Regions from separate parts of the Homo sapiens genome. Here region 1 is linked to region 2. The links are contacts of gene promoters, found by promoter capture Hi-C in human tissues and cell types (Jung and others, 2019). All regions are on one chromosome and are shown on one strand. The core of a region is centred on a gene start or on the middle of the fragment in contact, and the rest is flanking DNA. Distances in the headings are between cores, read along the strand shown. Region 1 has its middle 28 kb from the start of LINC01732. Region 2 holds the start of STX6 (syntaxin 6).

Region 1 (2,700 bases), core at 191-2,690, 120 kb after region 2:
GTACAAACCTTTCATTCTGCAGGACGTCCCTGGGTCTGTCTAATGTCCTGGTGTCCAGACTTGGGTCATGCTCCCTTGATAAGAACACCACAGAAATGATGCTATTCTCATTTCAGCAAATTGCATGGGGTGGAAGGAGGAGACATAGGATGTCAATCCATTCCACAACTGGAACTGTTTATTTTGATCACCAGTCACGTACCAACGTTTGTCTGCCAGGTTTCTCTCCTATAAAGACCCCATTTACCCCCTTTAAATTGATGGCATTTTGTGGGGAGGTAATCCTGTTCTTTATCAAACTTGCATCTCCCAATCTTAGCCTCCATTGATGTCTCCTGCCAGAATCAACCACAACTATGACAGTTTCCAAATTATGGTTTTCTATTTCCATCATTCCTTTTCATTTTATTAGTTGGTGGGCTACTGTAATACAAAGCTTTCCCATTTTCTATGTTCGTTTGCATATTTATTTCAGTAGGGAATCTTGTTTTATTCAATGGATTGTATTCCATTGCCGTCCTTGTTTATTTTGATGTTCACATTGCTCCAGATATGGCCAGTGGAGTCCCTTCAGCTTGGCTCCTGCCTCCTTCTGACACATCTCCACCATTCTCAGCACTGTCTTACTTTCTGGCACTACAAAATGACCAAGGCTCATCATGGTACTTTTCCTTCTCCAGCCTGGAATTAGCTCTTTCTCCAAGGAGCCCTGCCTTCTTGTAGTGGAGGATGGTGTTTAGGAACCAAAATCTGAGCCCTTAGTGTGCTTCTTGTTACTGAGGTGTCATTGCTTCTAGGCCTGTTGAGTGGACAGATCTAGGAAATATATGTGTGCATATGTACACTCACAGGTGTATACACACATCTACAACTATTTCCATATCTACCTGTGTTTATATATCAGAAAACAGTAAGTCGATGATACTCACACCTCCAGTTCCAATCCACCTCAGTGTTCTTTATAGTTTCCTTCTTTTCTATATTTGTAATTCTCTTCTCCAACAGTAAGAAACCGGACTGTCATTATCCTCAAGATATGTACTTATTTGCTCAATAAGTTTACTTATTTTTGTAACGTAATCAATCTCCCAATGACAGCAGCTGTGTCTTTCACCTCTACTCCCTGTCCCCACCTCTAGTGCCCTGTATCCTTAGGTGCCAGCAGGCATATCATCAGTGAACTCCACACAGCAGCCCCCTCTCTGTCAGTACCCCATAGGGGCCCTATGTGACTCTTCCAGGCCAGGAAGGGAGGGGAAGGAAAAAGAGAAGAAAGGAAGATGAAGCCTGTGTGGATTGTTTTAACTGAATGCCAAAAGGAAGAAGGAGATGCCATTTTGCCTATGCCAGCAAGTGCTTTGTCAAGTATTGATCAATAAGAAAGTACAGATATCAATAAGAAAGTATATACTCATGCATGTACGAATCAGTGATGAATATGACTTTAATACATAATCTAGTTATTTATGTTTAAAAGTAGTACATTGTTGATACTCCTTTCTTCACAAATACCCTAAAACCTTGTAGATGGGGTGGAGTGGGAAATATAAATTATCAGAAATGTGATCAGGAGTCAAAGAAATGCCCAAAGGGCAATTCAGAGTTGCATTCAGGCCTCAGAACAGGACACTTCTCAAAATTTGGGAGACAAAGTTAAAAATAGCTTATCCTGGTGGGCACGGTGGCTCATGCCTGTAATCCCAGCACTTTGGGAAGCTGAGGTGGGCAGATCACTTAGAGCTCAGGAGTTCAAGACCAGCCTGGCCAACACGGCAAAACCCCATCTCTACAAAAATACAAAAAAATTAGCCGGGCATTAGTGGTTCATGCCTGTAGTCCCAGATACTCAGGAGGCTAAGACTGGAGAACCTCTTGAGCTCAGGAAGCAGAGGTTGCAGTGAGCCGAGATTGCACTACTGCACTCCAGCCTGGGCAAGAAAGTGAGACCCTTTCTCAAAAACAACAACAGCAACAAAAACAAAAACAAACTTGTTTATCCTCTGAGGTTGAAGCCAACAAAAAGCAGCCCCAAATAAATGAGATTAACTACCTGTGGGTGGAACTGTCTTGGAAGATGACTTATAATTGACTCCAGGCATCTTTCACATCTCCATGAAGGAGAATGAAGAGCCTTCCAAAATCTTCCTCTGCAGTAGTTCATTCATTCAACACTATTCACCTTGATGTCTGCCGTGTTTTCCCTTGTAACAATGCTATTTATCTCTTTGGAATTGTATGTCAGTTGGCTGAGCACTGGAGGATATAACAGGGAAGAAAACACATTCCTCATAGTCAGAAAGTTCATGGTCTGGAGTGGGAGACAGTGACCAGGGCACTTCAGCATGTGAGCTATGTGCATTGAGAGGCGTGAGCATCTAGCTCTGACTGGGTGGAGGTATGTGGAAAGGTGTGCCAGGGAGGTGACCGCTAAGTGGACACCTGAAGGACTCATGGGAATCAGCCAAGAGAAGGGAGTGGAGGGAATGTTACGGGATGAGTGGCCACATGTCCCAAGGTCTGGAAAAGTGAGAGAGCACGGAGCGCCTGGCCAGTGGCAAGTGGGAATGTCAAGTTTGAGGGGGAATGGGGTGGGGGTGAGATGGAGAGCTAAGCAGGCCTGGATCATCAGAGGTCTTGGAAGCCGTATTTAGGCATTTGGACTTCGTCCTAGGGAGAGCGAGACATCCCTCAAGTGTGATC
Region 2 (2,700 bases), core at 158-2,657:
CACCTAAAATACCATTTAAATTTTCTACAACACTTGACTATACAACGGCCAGCTTGCACCACTACAGAAATAGGAAGCTAGCAGCAACTAGTAAAAAGCAAGGGACATTCTGTGGTGATCAGTACTGACCTGGGAACTTTGCAGTTTTCAGATTTTTCATGTTTGACATTTAAAACAGAAAACTGACAAGTTTCTAATAAGAAACTAAAAGTTACATCAGAATTGATCTTCTTGCATGTGTTTAATGGCTACGAAGTGGATATTACAAAGTGCAGTTGAAGACTCTATCTCCAAAGAAACAATCGAGCAATCAAAGATGAGCTAGGATAGCTTGTAAGGGAACAGAAGGCAGTCCTTTCTATTCTGAAAGGCAGAAGAAATAGGAGAAACCTGTCAAACAACCTGGATGAAATCAAGGAGTTAACAAGCAACACTCATTTCCTTTAGCACTGTGAGAAAATTCCGGTTGCTAATAGAAAGCTGAGGAAAGTTTGGTTTGGCTTGTTTCATTTTGTTTTCCTTCCAAATCATCACTGAGTATGAACGACTGCTTTCCTCTCCTCACATTACTCAGTAAAAACTCCCCCATTGAATTGTCTTCCGGTGCCCTGCTCCCCAGCCTCCCAGAACGGCCCCCGCCCCCGCCTCCCTCCCAGCAAACGTGCTCAGACGCCTCTGGGCTTGTTGTGGTCTCGCCAGTCTGCGGACAAGCGCTCCAAACTCAATGGACAATGGAGCTCACCCCCGTCAACGCGAACTACAAAGCTCAGGAGGGCCATTTCCCTTTTCCTGCCCAGATGCTGTTTTCGCTCCTTCGAAGCAAGATCCCATGCTCGACTAGACGGCCAGTGTGCGCCAGGACCCGCGTGTCTCCTTCCCCACCTGCAGAGCTGCTGAGCCCCTCGGCCCCCAAATAAATTGTACCGCAGCACACAGGCCAAAAAGGGCCCCCCACCACCAGGGGCTTGGCTGGGGACAGTGGCTTCACGGTCCAGGTAGGGATGGAGGGAACGTCTCTTGACGCTTGGTCATGGCCCTCAAGACTAAGCCGTCTCCACTGTTCCCCCTCCCCAGCTCCAACTTGCCTCCCCTCCCCCCACTGCGAGAAGACCTAGGAGGTGCGGGCAGGCAGCACCGCCACCTCTTCCTCCGGTGGAGCGCTCGGCCGACACTCACCCTTTCACCACAAAGAAGGGGTCCTCCATGGACATGGCGTCCCGGCCCCGGCCGCCTTCACCTCCTCCGCGCACAGGGCGCCCGTGCCTCCCGGTCTCCCTCCGCCCACCCCGCCTGTTCCCGCAGCTGCCCGCGCCTTAGTCTGGGTGAAGCCGAGCAGCGGGCACGCGCACAGGCCAGGTGCACAGGACGGCCGCTGGTCCAGCACTCGCTCAGCACCACTGGCCGAATCCCGGACTCGGGCGCCGGCCCCCTCGGCAGCCTCCAGTCCCGGCTCCTCCCGAAGCGTCGGAGGGCCTGACCCCACCCCCGGGACCCTCGGCCGCGGCCAATCACGAACGCCGCCTGAAACACGACTTCCGCACCCCGCTCACGTGACCAGGGCATATATCTCTCTCTCTCTCTCTCTCTCCTCTCTCTCCTCTCTCTCCTCTCTCTCCTCTCTCTCCTCTCTCTCCTCTCTCTCCTCTCTCTCTCTCTCTCTCTCTCTCTCTCTCTCTCTCTCTCCCCCCCCCCCCAGTGGGCGGGGCTTACGCCTGCGTCCCTCGGCCCTGGAGGCGGAGCCCTCGGGGCGGTGGAGGTGGGCGGGCTTCTACAGCCCTCTCCTCAAGCTTGAGGGTGAGGAGTGGCTTGTTCCCTCAGAACTAGGCAGTCGGCTTTTCAGGATAAGCTGTAGTTGTACCTGATTTGCAAAATCCTCTTACCTTTCCTCTACTTTTAATACTTAATTTTGACAGTATGTAATTTATAAATCTATCTGGTCCTCGACTTAAAATGAAGCATAGTATCTGATTATAATGTTACACAGATCCTTTAAGTAGGTCTTGCTTTGTGTTGGACAGTGTGCTAAAGGTTGTGTATGCATCATCTCAGTATCCTTTGGGGGAAAGTATTATTCCCCCCTCCCCCTTTTTGGGGGGCAGGGTCTCTCTCTGTCACCCTGGCTGGAGTGTAGTGGCACAATCACAGCTCACTGCACCCTTGACCTCCTGGGCTCAAGCGATCCTCCGGCCTCAGCCTCCCGAGTAGCTGGGACTACAGGTGAGCGCCACCACGCCCGGCTAATTTTTAAATTTTTTATAGAGATGGGGCTCTCAGTATATTTCCTAGGCTGGCCTTGAACACCTGAGCTCACATGATCCTCCTGCCTCTGCCTCCCAAAGTGGTGGGATTATGGGCGTGAGCCACCACACCATCCATTTTTCTCATTTTGTAGATAAGAAAATAAGTTCAGAGAGGCTTGAAGACTTCCTGTAGTCACACAGCCTGGACAGGGCAGAACTGCAGATTCTGTGCACTTTCCACCAGATGGGGTGTACTTTCTGTTGCTGTACATTCTGCAAATAACCATGTAAAGTAATTTTTCATACAGCATATGGTGCTTCCCAGGAGAGCACACCTTCGAGGAATAAAGAAGGGGCCAGGTATGACAACTTCCTCTCACTGTGGTTCAAGAGCTATTCGAGAAAACATTTTGCCCAGAACCATTAACCAACTCATATGCTAGATATGCTATGAAATTTG

Evidence for each region. The method cuts DNA at HindIII sites, captures the fragments that hold promoters and counts their contacts. A contact is called where the count stands out against the background at its distance.
Region 1: a fragment that was not itself captured here is called in contact with the fragment with the promoter of STX6 in region 2 in 2 of the 25 tissues and cell types used here (H1 embryonic stem cells and neural progenitor cells).

The regions. Positions count from the first base shown.
Region 1 is chr1:181,145,393-181,148,092 of GRCh38, forward strand. No RefSeq gene overlaps it. Among named protein-coding and RNA genes, the nearest start is that of LINC01732, 28 kb to the right of the region's middle. The HindIII fragment of the contact is 3,293 bases long and covers 1-2,700 here.
Region 2 is chr1:181,021,463-181,024,162 of GRCh38, forward strand. It overlaps STX6 (syntaxin 6), which reads right to left and starts at 1,408. Exons shown (of 8, transcript NM_005819.6): 1 at 1,177-1,408. The coding sequence starts at 1,211. RefSeq lists an enhancer at 1,148-1,931 and silencers at 1,340-1,469, 1,590-1,689. The HindIII fragment of the contact is 9,160 bases long and covers 1-2,700 here.